Linked DNA regions of Homo sapiens: region 2 is linked to region 1. Evidence: promoter capture Hi-C in human tissues and cell types (Jung and others, 2019). All regions are on one chromosome and are shown on one strand. Each heading gives the region's core, a stretch centred on a gene start or on the middle of the fragment in contact. The rest is flanking DNA. Distances are from core to core; before and after follow the strand shown.

Region 1 (7,490 bases), core at 1,422-3,921:
CACACACACACACACCCGCTACAAACACTTACATTTAGGAATTGCTTAAAATATATATTTTTAATGAGTGAAACAATGGAAGAGAGTGAGCAGAAGGATGAGGGTCTCATAAGTGTGGCATCTGATGATAGGTTGCAGGAAACAGCCAAAATTCCCAGAAGACAGAGCACTCAGCGGACACCTCTTCAACCTCGGCATGCAGGAAGGCTCTGTTGGAAGGCTTTGGTGGCAAGGGACAGAGAGGGGAAAGAGGGAGTTAATGCACTTATTTTAATATCTCTTGAGCCTAATGCGGGATCTGGTTTATAGTGCCCTGCTCAAATGTTTGTTGAATGAATGAAGGAAAGGTTGGATAAATGGGTGGATGGCTGGGTGGATGGCTGGATGGATATATGGGTAAATGGATGAGTGGATGGATGGATGGTGGATGGATAGATGGATGGGTGGATGGGTGGATGGATGGCTGGATGGATATATGGGTAAGTGGATGAGTGGATGGATGGATGGTGGATGGATAGATGGATGGGTGGATGGGTGGATGGATGGGTGGATGACTGGATGGGTGGATGGGTGGATGGATGAATGGGTGGGTGGATGGGTGGATGAGTAGATGGATGGGTAGATGGATGTGTGGATAAGTGGGTGGATGTGTGGATGAGTGGGTGGATGAATGGATGAGTAGGTGGGTGGGTGGATTGGTGGGTGGATGGGTGGGTGGATGGATGGATAGATGGTGGGTGGATGGATGGATGGGTGAAGGGATGGATGGTGGATGGATGGATGGTGGATGGATGGGTGGATAGATGGATGGGTGGATGGGTGGATAGATGGATGGGTGGATGGGTGGATAGATGGATGGGTGGATGGATGAATGGGTGGGTGGATGGGTAGTTGAGTAGATGGATGGGTAGATGAATGGGTGGATGAGTGGGTGGATGAATGGATGAGTAGATGGTTGGGTAGATGAATGGGTGGATGAGTGGGTGGATGAATGGATGAGTAGATGGTTGGGTGGATGGATGGATGGATGGATGGATGGATGGATGGATGGATGGATGGTTGGATGGATAGATGGTGGGTGGATGGATGGATGGAAGGGTGGGTGGATGGATGGGTGGGTGGATGGAAGTGTGGATGGGTGGATGGATGGGTGGATGGGTGGATAATGGATGGATGGATGGGTGGATGGATGGGTGGATGGGTGGATGATGGATGGATGGGTGGATGGATGGTGGATGGATGGATGGACGGATGGATGGGTGGATGGGTGGATGGATGGGTGGATGGGTGGATGGATGGGTGAGAGAATAGATGAGAGACTACTTCAATCTGGCTTTCAGGGACAAAACTGAAACCCATGTTTTGTGGCAATCAGATGGCTGTGGGAACTTTCAAAGATGGCCCTCAGGGACCCCCACCCCTGGTATTGTGCCCTGTGTAATCCCCTACCTTTGAGTGTAGGCTGTGCCTGATGACTTCCTTCTAACGAGTAGAATATGCCAGAAGTGATGGAATATCACATCCTTGAGTATATTACAAAAGACTGACCTACCTCTTCCCAGACTCTCTCCATAGCCCTCTCTGATGCAACGAGCTGCCAGGGCGGAGAGGCCCACATGGCAAAGGACTGATAGTGGCCACAGCTGACAGCTGAGAGGGGCTGAGGCCTTCATCCTACAGCCCTAAGAAACTGAATCCTGCCAACACCAGCAGCTTGGAAGTGGATCCCCCCTAGTGGAGCCATGAGATGAGACCTCAGCCCCTCCAACACTTGGATGGCAACTTATGAGAAACCCTGAGCAGAGAACCCAGCCAAGCAGTGCCCAGACTTCTAGCCACAGAAACTGAGATGACAAATGAGTGTTATTTCAAGCCACACACTTTGAGTTAATTTGTTTCCAGAACAGATAGCTAAAACAAACGCTGATTTGAGTTTTATATAAAGATGGATGATGTAGCAATTAAACTTGGCAAATGATGGTAGTGGTTTTGATACTAGTTGGCTTGGGTTTGAATCCTGGATCCCCAACTTACTAGCTGTGGGGCTTTGAGCAAGATGATCAATTTCTTGAGCCTCTGTTTCTGCATCTTTAAAATGGGCATGATTCTCTGGTCATAGTGACAACACAAGGATTACATAGATTATGTAATGTACTTAGCCCAGTGCCTGTCATGTAGTAAGCACTGGATTAAAGGAAGCTATTAGAGGGAATAATAATAATAATAATAATAATAATAATAATAATAATAATGGAGCAAGATGCCTTACAAAGCAGTGAGTGTTCCATGCCTGGAAGTGATTGAGTTAAGGCCAGATGGCCATGGCAGGAAGTGACTAGAACCCTGGAGGACCCCAAAGCCTCTCCCAAATCTCAGATTTGAGGGCCGTGCAGCTGGCTTGGCCAATGCTTGGGGTTGGTGGGCCAGCTGAGCCACGGGCCCCTCTTGGTGTGACCATCAGCATTATCTTGCACTGGGCGGGCGGCGGGTATTCCAGCCATGCCCAGCCTTCCCCTCAGATAGCCCTTCCCTCCTGCACCACTTTTGTGTCAGGTATGTGGCTGCCACCCTGGCTCAACCCATGGGGCCCAGGAAGGTAAACACCCAGCCGGGAAGTGATCGTTATGGGCTCGTGGCCAGCTATGGGCCAAGGCAGGTCTAAAGGTCGGGAATGCTTACCAGTGAAGCTTTTCCAGGACAGGACGAAGTTTTTGGCTGTGGGCTCTCTGGGACAGAGTGGAGCGCCTGTGGATTTAGCCGGGGACACACCATCCTGCTCGCAGGTGCCTGGACAGGACAGGGGACGAGGGAGGAACACTCTCTGAGGAAGCCCAACTCCTATGAGCTCCTCTCTGGCAGGTGAGAGAATGGTTTTGGTATTTTTTAAAAAAATAAAATGAGATAAAACAAGAGAAGGAACAGAGGCTACCGCTAGGACAGGTAGGAAAGGAGATTACCACCCATCCATTCACTGAGGAGGAGCCCCCAAGAGAAACAGCAGCCCTGGATTCCACCCGAGGGATCCTGTCTGGTCTCGGCTTCAGCACTGCCCCTCCTGGCACTCAGTTTCACCATCTGGGAATCAGGATAAGGACTCCTTCCAGGCGCTCTTCCATTATGGCTGTGGGGTAAGTGAGATCAAAAGCAGGAATGGCTGCATAATTGCAGGGCCCTGTGCAATATAAAAATGCAGGGCCCCTTGTTAAAATAGTAAGGCTTTCAAAAGGACAACAACACAGCATTAAAGCAAGCCGGGGCACCTTCTAAGAACAGGGCCCTGTGACTGCCCAGGCCCCACACCCACGACGCCAGTCCTGATAATGAGCGTATATGTAAACGGAAGTGCCCTGATTCCTGTGTGCCATGGCACAAATCTCAGGGTCAGGAAGTGCACTTGGGAAACAGAAGTCATAGTCGTGAAGTGACAGCCCACTGCGCTTTAGCTCCCCCAGCACTGCCCCCTCCGCTCAGGGGCCCCTTTCAGAAAGACAGAAGGCCCTACCCCTCAGAACCTTCCTGATTTTTGCATCTGGCTGGCCTCAAGCCACAGCACGGTGTGACTGAAATGTGTAGGGACACAGTTTTCTTGGATGTGAAAGTGGTAGGTTCTTATTGTCTATCTTGATTTAAAATTTGGGACAGTCACACAGTCTCTGGCTGTGTAGAGGTGGGACTTGTGTTTCCTGGGCTCGTGACAGCTCTGCTATGTTCCATTGACTATCAGTGTATTTCTGCTTTTTGGGAAAATCCTTAATGCAATAAGGCCACTGGTGGGAATGTTCCAGCTTGGACACTTGCCATGTGTCTTTGTCCTCCCTGCCCCTTCTCTCTTTCTCTCTCTCTCTCTCTCTTTTTCCATTTAGGCTTCCCCTTTGCCCATGTCTCAGGCTGCCCCTTGGCACTGCTTAGCTCTGAGGAAGTAGAAGCCAGGGTCCCCTTGGGGGTCAAGCTTTCTGGTCCATGAAGGGAGACCACAGACCACCTCCCTCCACCGCACTCTCCTCCCACATCCCTTTCTGGAGCCCAAATTGTCATGGGAACCCCTCCCAGGGAGGGGATCCCCACAGGAAAGCCAGGGGTTGATCCAATGACAGTGTGAGTAACATTCCACAGCTTTCTGCCCCAGTGGGGCTGGGGACACAGATGAGGCTAGACATGGGGGAAGATGAATTGCTTTAAGAAGAGCTGATGCATGCCTGTAGTCTCAGCCACTCAGGAGGCAGAGGCAGGAGGGCTGCTTGAGCCCAGAAGTCATGCGGTGGGCTATGATCATATCACTGCATTCCAACCTGGGCAACCTGGCAAGACTCTGTCTCTGTTCCTTTTTTTTTTTTTTTTTCATTGCTTTAAGAACTTCCCTTGGCCTGTGGGAGACCGGAAGCTTGTACCAGTAACAAAATAGCCCAGATGTTGTGGGGCCACCCAGAGCCTCTCAGAGGAGACCAAACCTAACCACCCAAGCCTGCTGGCTCTACCAGGGGCGCAGGAGCTGCTGTTTGTCCCAAGAAGCTGGTGAGCCACCAGCACCAAGTCGGACATCCCGTCTCCCAAGATGACGTCCCTTCCCCATCTACATGGGCCCATTGCTTCCCGAGTAAGGAGTCAGCTCTGATGCTCTGAAGTCACCCCCCAGCACAACCCCAATGGCAAAAATTCCTTTACTCCTTCATAGATAATTGCTGTGCACAGTGTATGTGTGAGGCTTTGAAGTGGGGCTGGGGACACAGATGGGACAATGGTGGCCCTCAGGCTAGTGGAGATGAAGCGATGCTGTGTCCCACACCCCCGAGGCCAGGCCAGAAACCCCGCTTGGTGAAAAGAGCACACCAGCCCTCTCACCCCAACAACGGTGATAGGATCCTGAGGCTGAGAGGCACCGTGGCCCAGCGGAGCAGGGGGTTCCATCTCTGAGCCTGGATGGGCTGCCTCTTTTCAGACCCCCCTTCTCCCCGCACCTAAGCCCCCTCTGCTACCATGATGGTGTCTTCAGGAGGCTGCTGGGCCTCAGGAAAAATTCCTTCCCTTGGCCTGGGACCACCTCTCCCCACCTTGGGAGAGGTCAGACCAGGGGGTGGAATTCTGCCTCCAGACTGGAGGACCCACCCCAGAAGGCTGAGGACTTCAGCCTTACTCCTCCTCCCTTTGTTTGGCAGCCATCCTGGAGGCCAGGGCCGTGGGAGACCACATGGGGTCTGAGCACTGAGGAGGGGCCATTTGCTGGAGCACCCTCTGTGGGCTGCTTTTGGGAAACTAGCTCAGGTGGTTGATTAAGGACCTGGGAGCCTGGGTGAGGCCATCTCACAATCTTCCTGCCTCAACTCACTTTGCCTGTGGACAAGGAAAAAAAAAAATCACACGTTCAAATGAGGAGGATGGGCACCATCAAAGGGATGGATGATCAGCAAGGCCTGCATGGAGGAGGTGGCCTCTGAGCTGGCCATCATTCAACAATCTTCCATCACTTATTAATGATTTTCCAGGAGGAGGAGAAGAACTGGGGGTGTGGTTTGATGTATTATAAAGCAAGCATTACTACCTTGAAAATAAGGTAGTAATTCTTTTCACACTCACTCAGAATGAATGCTCCAGGTTCTCTAAATAGCATACGTTCACAGATAGCACATTCCAGGTGAAGGGACAGCAGGGTTTTAGCAAAAGGGAGGGAGCCCTGCAGTAAGGGTTGGGCCAGTGGAGGCAGAGACAGGGGAGGCATGAGGTCTGTTTAAAAGATGCCAGCTGGGCGTGCTGGCTCACACCTGTAATCCCAGCACTTTGGGAGGCTGAGGCGCATGGATTACCAGAGGTCAGAAGTTCAAGACCAGTCTGGTCAACATAGTGAAACCCCATCTCTACTAAAAATACAAAAATTGGCATGGTGGTGGACCCCTGTAATCGCAGCTACTCAGGAGGCTGAGGCAGGAGAATGGCTTGAACCCAGGAGGCAGAGGTTGCAGTGAGCCAAGTTCACGCCATTGCACTACAGGCAAGGTGACAAGAGGAAGACTCCAATTCAAAAAAAGAGAGACAGGACAGGTGGAGTGGAGGGAAGGTGGAGGGGATGGCCCAACCCAAGATGCCAGGACCCCAGAGGTCCACAGAGATGAGAGTGGGGGTCTGGATGGCCAGCGTGTCCCATGGGAAATTCATCCCTCACTTCTGCACCCTGCACCTGGTGGCTGTGCCTCAGTTGCCTTCACTTTGGGCTGGAGCTTCATGCACCAGCACCATGTCTCCCAAAGCTAGAAGCTCTGACCTCCAATCATCCAGGAGTTTTACTTTTTTTTTTTTTCTGTAGAGATGGGTTCTCACCATCTTGCCCAGGCTCATCCCAAACTCTTACACTCCAGCAATCCTCCCACCTTGGCCTCCCAAAGTGCTGGGATTAGAAGAGTGAGCCACTGCACCTGGCCCCAAGTTGCTGATGAGTTTAAAAATGGGTATATGAACCGGGTGCAGTGGGGTGTCCTGTAGTCCCAGCTACTCTGGAGGCTGAGGTGGGAGGATCGCAAATTCAGATCCAGCCTGGGCAAAATAGCAAGACCCCCATCTCTAAAAATAAATAGATCAATAAAAAGGAGTTTTGGGCAGCAACATGGATAGAAGTGGAGGCCATTATGTCAAATGAGATAAACCAAGCATAGAAAGACATATATCTCGTGTTCTCACTCATATGTGGGAGCTAAAACTGTGAAGTGGGTCTCATGATGACAGACAGTAGACTGCTGGTTACTGGAGGCCAGGAAGTGGAGCAGGGACGCAGGGATGAAGGAGTGAAAAAGAATAAAGATACTTATTGTCACTGAACTGCACACTTAAAAATTATGAAGATGGGCCGGGTGTGGTGGCTCACACCTGTAATCTCAGCATTTTTGGAGGCCAAGGTGGGCAGATCACTTGAGGCCAGGAGTTCAAGACCAGCCTGGCCAACATGGCAAAACCCTGTCTCTACTAAATATACAAAAATTAACTGGGCGTAGTGGCACCTGTAATCCCAGCTACTCGGGAGGCTGAGGCAGGAGAATCACTTGAACCAGGGAGGTGGAGGTTGCAGTGAGCCAAGATCAAACCACTGCACTAAGCCTGGGCCACAGAGCAAGACTCCGTCTCAAAAAAGAAAAAAAAAAAAAGATGCAGATGGTAAAGTTTTTTAAAAAAAGGAAAAAGAAATATCTATTGAAAAACTGAAAAGAAACAGAGGTGCCAATTCACTATTAGTTAATGAGTATGTTTCCTACCAGAGACAAATCCTTCAAAATATAGGCTCTGCAGAAGGGCAAGCAACTTGGACAGTGCCCTTCAAGGGATGAGAGAAGCTTGGGAACCACAGAGGCAGTGACAGGGGATATGGAAGGCAAGCTGGGCCTAAGGCCCTTGACCCCCAGGTCCCGCCCCAAAGTGGCCAGGGTCAGTCCCAAGGTGCTGACTTTTGGAGTGTTGCTCTATCTTATGTACAAGTTAGTGCAACCTGCTTGTATCAGTCTTTCAGGCTA
Region 2 (7,490 bases), core at 2,893-5,392, 36 kb after region 1:
CAGGAATGAACAAGGACAGCTTAAAGGTTAGAAGCAAGGTGGAGTTGGTTAGGTCTGATTTCTTTCACTGTCACAATTTCCTCAGTTATACTTTTTGCAAAGGCAATTCCAGGTGCTTGGGAGGCCCTCGGCCCTGGGGAGGAGACATCCTCCTTTCTCTTGTTTTCCACCTTCTCCTACCCTTACCCCTCCATTCCCCTAGTTGAGAGGCAGAAGACGATAGCGAGAGATGGCAGGGCTCCAGCTGCCCCTTCCCTACTGGTGCCAGTCCTTCTCCAGATCAGGACTCCTGCTTGCCTCTGACCTGCGCAGGCACTCCATGTGCCCTAGACCTGGCCAAAGCAAGGGCCGCTGCTCTCGCCCAGGCAGCTTCTCCCTCATGCACCTGCTGAGGATGCCCTGGTGGCGGTGTTCCCCTAGGACTTTGCCTGAGGGGGCTCTAGGGACTAGCAAATGAGAATGCTCTGCGAGCTGTCTGACTCATGCCTGTAATCCCAACACTCTGGGAGGCTGAGGTGGGTGGATCACTTGAGGTCAGGAGTTTGAGACCAGCTTGGCCAACATGGTGAAACCCTGCCTCTATTTAAAAAGAAAAACGTAGCCAGGCACGGTGATAGGCACCTATAATCCCAGCTACTTGGGAAACTGAGGCAGAAGAATCATTTGAACCCAGGAGGCAGAGGTTGCAGTGAGCTGAGATCGCGCCACTGCACGCCAGCCTAGGCGACAGAGCAAGACTCTGTCAAAAAAAAAAGAAAAGAAAAAAGAAATGCAGTCTCAGCCCCCACCCAGGACCTCCTGAGTCAGAATCTGTGATTTAACGAGAGCCCCGGATGATGTCTGCACTTGGATGAGATCCAGTCTAGAAACTTCACCTCTCCACACCCACCTTGCTCCTCCCCACATGCCCTGTGCCTTCCTCCCCTGCAGTAGCTGGTGATTGCTACAGCTGAGCCTGCAGCCAGCTCCCCACAACTCCCCACCTCCTTGTCCCCTTGTGTCCTGACCTCCCAGGACACTGATTCACACACTGATTCATGCAGCCCAGTGCTGGGAGGTGTAACAGCCACCTCAGCTCCTGGGCCTGAAGCTGCACAACTAACACAGAGACAGCCAAATAGAGCCCCCTCCTGGCTCTGATCCTTCCAGGCCTGACTTCAGCCCACAGTTACAACAGCATCTTTTGACCACATCACAGGTCCCCCCAACAAATGAGTCAGATAGCTGTAGTGTGACCCCTGCCGCACCATTTGCCAGCCATGCGACCTTGGCCAGATTATCACAGCTCTGAGAGTGGCAGCTGCCTCATCTATAAAGTGGAGTAATTATCACATTGACTCATGCGGAAGTTGCGAGGCTTGGCTAAGGTAACTCATCCGTTCATCTATTGCTGTAAAAAAAAAAAAAAGATGTTTACAGAGTGTTGTTGTGTGGCCGGCATCAGGAACAACAGAGACCCAAACAGACCAAGTCCTGTCCTGAGGAAGCTTATTAAGGAGGGAATGTGGACAGACATAGAATGAAGACGTGAGTCCCATGCCAGCAGGTGCTCAGGGGGTGTGAATGAATGAATGAATGCAAGTGCACCATGAGCTGCACCCTCCCTCAATCACAAAGCTATCCCCAGGCTCCCCCACCCTGAAGTTACCATGGAATAGAAAGACATGGGTCTAAAGCCACAGAGGAACTTAAGGGAACATCAGAAGATTGGGGTGGGGGAAGCTTCTGGGTTTTCTGGCAGTTAATCGTTATAGACGAATCAAAGCAATTATAAAAAGATTCCAGACGCAGAGCACATTTGCTTAAAATAGTCTATAATTGCAGCAGAATTAGAATAGTTTTACAGATAGTTTTACAATCTCTTCCTGTGTGTGTGTGTGTGTGTGTGTGTGTGTGTGTGTGTGTAAAATCATCTCAAAGGTGGTAAGATCTGGGAATACTTCTTCTCAGGGTTTCAGAGCCTCCTCATTTCAGGGAGGACAATCCCCCTGACTCTTAATGTACCATGAACATCCCTCTAAGGACCCTCTGAGCCTCCCTGGATCACCAAATTTGAGAGCTAGAAGTCAAGAATACCCACCCACCCCATGTTTTCTGGACAGGAAACTGAGGCCCTGACTTGCCTGATGTTAAGCCTGTGATTACAAGCAGCTGGAAATGGAGATTCGAACCCAGGTCCCCTGACTCCTGGCCCAGTGCCCTTGGTGGTATATGGTGTGGGCGTCGTTGCATCCCTGGCACCGCACAGTAAATGCTGGTGATCAGCACTGACACAGGCAACGTCGACAGAGCAGCGAACACAGCACAATAGGCTACAGAAGCCAGACACCCAGCCTGGGCAGCATGGCAAAACCCATCCCTACAAAAAATACAAGTATTAGGCGGGCGCCTGTGCTCCCAGCTATTCAAGGGGCTGAGGTGGGAAGATGGCTTGAGCCCATGAGGTCGAGGCTGCAGTGAGCCACGGATGAGCCTCTACTGCACCACTGCTCTCCAGCAAGGGCGACAGACTGCCAGCTCCACCTACACAACAGAAAAGGGCAAACCAAGACTCTAATTGGTGGTTGCCGGGGCTGGGGGCGGGGCAGTTACTGACCTCCGCAGGCACAAGGGGACTTTTCCCTGTTGAGGGAGCTGTTCTGTATCTTGGTGGTGGTGGTGGTTACATGCACTGAATGTGTTTGTCAAAACTAATAAAAAGAGTAAATTATACCGCAAGTTATTTTTGTTTCGTTTTGTCTTGTTTTTGAGATGGAGTCTCGCTCTGTCGCCCAGGCTGGAATGCAGTGGCGCAATCTCGGCTCACTGCAACCTATGCCTTCCCGTTTCAAGCGATTCTCCTGCCTCAGCATCCGGAGTAGCTGGGATTACAGGCGCCCACCACCACGCCCAGCTAATATTTTTTTTCTTTTAGTAGAGACTGGTTTTCACCATGTTGGCCAGGCTGGTCTTGAACTCCTGACCTCAAATGATCCCCCCCCTCAGCCTGTGCTGGGATTACAGACGTGAGCCACCATGCCCAGCCCCTCAAGTTTTTAAGATACAGCCTAAAATAATGACGATACTGATAGTAATAATAACCTTGAAAGCCAAAAAAAAAAAAAGTTCATGTTAGGATCACAACACAGAGGCCCCGGGGGTCCCCTTGTCAGAGCCGGAAGATGCCTGTTAGCAACTCAGTCCAGTGTCGGTTAGGGATTTCTGTCCACAAACTTTTCTCCTGGGAGATTCCTCAACCCAACACCGCAAAACCAGTGTGCTCTGACCCCAACCTGGCTTCACTCCTGCTTCCCAGACCAGGAGTGGCATTCCGCCAGGCACCCAGGCCCACAACAAACAGGGGGCCAGCTCCCTTGTCCGCTGCTCTCAAAACCACCACAAGTCACTGACCTGCAATTCCTCCCATTCCTCCCTGCAGCTCTGACCTGTCCAGGTACTCACCTGTGTGCCATCCCCCTCAGGACGTGCTCTATGTCCCCCACCACCCCGCCTGTGCCTCCTGCTCGGGGCCTGCCAGGCCCTCTGGCCACCAGCAGGGTTTGCTGGGTGAGCTCCTCGGTCCAGCAGTCAGAGGCCTCCACAGACTGGCACCAAAACACAATGAATGCCTACATCATCCACCCCCACTCCCACCCCACGGGACCCCTGCCTATCACTGTCCACAGGTCCAGCTCTTCACTGAAAGCAGCCTCAATGCAAGGGTTTGGGTGAGGTGGTAGGCACAGGGGCCGGGGAAAGAAGAGAGAAGGCAATGCCAGCGGCAGGCAGGCCTCACTGAACTCTAAAACCTCAACAGCGCCTCCAGCCTCCATCTGGACAGCTCCAGTGACAGGGACGTCAGCCCCCAAAGCAGCACCCCCATCTCTGGGGAGCTCGGACACTCATGGTCTCCGCCTTACACTGAGCTCAAGGCCATCATTGTCTCTGGGTCTCATTCTGCCCCCAGGCTCCCAGAGGTCAGATGGGTGACAATGGTGACCTCGTCCCTCCCGAGTCTCTGCCCGTCCTTGCAGCCACTTTTCTGGTGGATCAGGTTCCCAAGTGGAGCAAGTGCAGGGGTCCCCGTTCATCTGGCCAGGTTGGAAGCCTCTCTCTCTCTCTGTCCTCTTGCTGGCTCAAGAACGGTTTCGCTCTTATTGCAACCTCATCCCCTCAGTGACCCAGGTTAAACTTGCTGTGAATGAAAATCACCCCATCTCGCTGGAGCTGTGGGTTCTTTGCCACACATAAGACAAGCATCTTCCTCCCAGGCACTCCCGGGAAGGGTGCGTATTAATGGTCCATCCTAAGTGTGTCCTCCCAGCCACCGCACAATCCTCTCTGGCCACCTGAAATAGCAGCGTTGCTTTCTAGTTGGAAGGGGCTTCACCGACCCCATAGTGCACACTCCAACTTCATGGATCAGGAAACTGAGGCCGGGACCAGAAGGGTCAGGTATTGCTGGGTCCCCCAGACGACCGTGGTGGGGAAGGCACTCCCCAGGTCCCCATGAGCTCAGGTTGTGCCCCTGCACGTGGCCCAGCTGCTCTGAGGCAACCTCTGAGTACGTTAATGCTCATTTCTGCCTGGCTGACAATTTACAGGGAAGGTGGTTAATAGAACAGGATCAGCCCTGCAAGCAGGTGGGAAGGAGGTGCCATCCTAGGGCAAACCTTCTGATACAAACCTGTGTCGGAAGTAGCTGGTTCTAGGAACCAGAGTGGCCTTCAGTCTTCAAATCCCCCTACCCAGAAAGTCCTAATTCCTATCTTAGGTAAACGAAGGCATTCTCGGCCTGGGGTAGGGGAAACCCAACCTCCTGACTATTCTGCCAGACCACCTGCCCTGAGATCAGTAGTGTGGGGCTGGCTGGTGGGTGTAGAAGAAGGTGTTTGGGAACTCAGAGGGACTGTGGAGGAAGAGGAGTGGTGCGGTGGGAAAGGAGGCATCTGAAACCCAGCCCTCCATGCTCCCCATTTCACAAAGGAAGACACAGACAAACACTCCTGATGAATCGTAGAACACTGGTTGAGCTGGATGTTTGTGGAAGGGAGCAACAGAAGAGGACTGGAAGGGTTTTTTTGAGATGGAGTCTGGCTCTGTTGCCCAGGCTGGAGTGCAGTGGCAAGATCTCTGCTTATGGCAACCTCCACCTCCCAGATTCAAGCGATTCTCCTGCCTCAGCCTCCCGAGAAGCTGGGACTACAGGCATGTGCCACCAAACCCAGCTAATTTTTATATTTTTAGTAGAGACAGGGTTTCTCCATGTTGGCCAGGCTGATCTTGAACTCCTGGCCTCAGGTGATCTGCTCGCCTCGGCCTCCCAAAGTGCTAGGATTATAGGCCGGTGCCTGGCCAAGTCTCTGACCATTTTGAAGGTATGATGGAATCTCTGGACCGATAGGCCAGAAAAATGTATATGCTCATACACAGCCTTGTACCCTGAAAACCTCCATAGAATCCATGTGACCCCAGGTTTCAAGCCCTCAGATGAGTGGAGAGCTGAGAAGAATTCCTAGCTCGGCCTCTCTGTCTAACACGCTGTCCCACCAGCTTAGACCCACTAAGAGGGTCCACATAGTCTCTCGCCCTGAGCACCCCTACCCTAGGAGGTCTTTGTGGGGAGGGAGGTGGGGTTTGTTCCTGTTGTATCCCCCTTTTCCTATGAAAAGTGTCCTCGTTCAGATGATATGCTATATGGTCACCCCAGAGGGAGGTAACCATTCTGTTTCTCCAGCCCATGGTGGGGTGGCCATGGGATGGGGGGACCTTATTCTTCCACCACGGCCATACATCATTCCATCAGAAAGGCCACTAATGCACCCACTAGACTTGGTTGCCAGCTGATGGCAAGGTTTGTCGCCTTGGGGATCAACCTTGCCCATGTCTAAACTTACCATTGTGAGACCTTGCACCAGCCCACAACCCTTTCTCATCTTCTGAGACTTTCTTTTCCTGTCTAGACATTTACGGTCCCTCTCAATGCTTTCCTGGAATTCCCTCACTATTTCTGCCACCCTTTTTCTCTGGAATTATTTAAGAAGTATTTATTTGAATGTAGTTTTGCAAGCCACTTTAAACATTTCCCCCTAAAAGTGCCTCTTAGGAATAATGTAAACAAACGGCAATTATAAAATGATACGTGAATGCCTCCAAATTGCAGAGATTAAGCTGTAATTTTCAGTGGCGAAGACGTGGATACCAGGATGTGCAGATTATCCCACGTTTCATCAAATTCGAATGGGAGTGGAGTTCCACAGTCTGAATAGAATACTTAGCCTGATGACTAACTGAAAATTGTTTTCTATCTATTCTAAAGCACTCAAACCAGTGAAGCTTGGGAAAGTCATTGACCTCCAGTCGTTCTGCTGAGAAACATCTGGCTCTATTTCCATGGAGACCAGGGAATCTGAAGATTTGGAAAAGACCCGGAGGAAATCAGCAAGTGATCAATGGAACACTGATAATGAACCAGCCAAGGTGAAACCTGAGTTACTCCCAGAAAAAGAGGAGACTTCTCAAGCTGACCAGGATATCCAAGACAAAGAGCCTCATTGCCACATCCCAATTAAGAGAAATTCCATCTTCAATCGCTCCATAAGACGCAAAAGCAAAGCCAAGGCCAGAGACAACCCCGAACGGAACGCCAGCTGCCTGGCAGGTCAGTATCAGGGACAGCTGTCACGGCTGTTCCCTTACATCCAACTGGAGTCATCAGTGCTGAAAGGTCCTCATTAAATGAGAAAGGATAAGTGGCATTGAAAAGTACCAAGGACAGTTTCAACAGGGTAGTGCATTTTAAAACCATTATCTAAAGAACCCAAATTCCTCCACTATGATGACGTGTGTACTTAGGAGAAAGGGTTGACCCAAATTAGACAATTAGACTGGCTTCTACTGAAAAGAGATTTCTTGTTCTAGAACTCAGCAAAACACCCCTCGCTGTACATGCATTCTAGGAGGGAGACTTAGAGCCATCCACATTACGGGTCATCTGAGAACATGAATTGTCTCGGTGATGAGGTTCTGTCCTGTTCTCTCACTGTGACTGCCATAGCCAAAGCTTCTGCTGCTCTGAAAATAAATGAGATTAAAACCTTGGGAATAGATTTGCAGCAAGACTTCTTAATCTTTTAGACCAGTGCCTAGCACATTTTATCTGCTCAAAATATATGCATTGAGCAGAATAAAGTTCAGAAAACTTTACAAATGGGGTGTTGGTGCTACAGACTCTTTTCCTTGTGACGTGCTCCTGTGGTTGACAGGCAGCCTGCTGGGGGTGAAGAATGTGTGACAGTTTCCCAGCCCGGGAGGCACAGCAGCTGCCACCAGACTATATATGCTACCCTGAGTGTGCCAGAGTGGCAACCCCTGCTAAATCCAGAGACTTCATCAGTGCATTCAAAAACATTCATTAAACCCTGTATTGGGTAGCTGTTTGCCACACGTTAAACTCCCCTCAAAATATAGAGACTTAAAACAACAATATTTATTATTTCTCATGATTCTGG

What was found. The method cuts DNA at HindIII sites, captures the fragments that hold promoters and counts their contacts. A contact is called where the count stands out against the background at its distance.
Region 2: a fragment that was not itself captured here is called in contact with the fragment with the promoter of NGEF in region 1 in 1 of the 25 tissues and cell types used here (pancreas).

The regions. Positions count from the first base shown.
Region 1 is chr2:233,008,437-233,015,926 of GRCh38, reverse strand. NGEF (neuronal guanine nucleotide exchange factor) reads left to right here and starts at 2,671. Exons shown (of 15, transcript NM_019850.3): 1 at 2,671-2,859. It overlaps LOC101928881 (a long non-coding RNA gene), which reads right to left and starts at 3,313. Exons shown (of 3, transcript NR_136325.1): 1 at 2,958-3,313; 2 at 2,680-2,787; 3 at 42-220. The HindIII fragment of the contact is 2,443 bases long and covers 876-3,318 here.
Region 2 is chr2:232,973,773-232,981,262 of GRCh38, reverse strand. It overlaps NGEF (neuronal guanine nucleotide exchange factor), which reads left to right. Exons shown (of 15, transcript NM_019850.3): 2 at 6,299-6,640. The coding sequence starts at 6,373. Among named protein-coding and RNA genes, the nearest start is that of NGEF, 36 kb to the left of the region's middle. The HindIII fragment of the contact is 5,074 bases long and covers 1,606-6,679 here.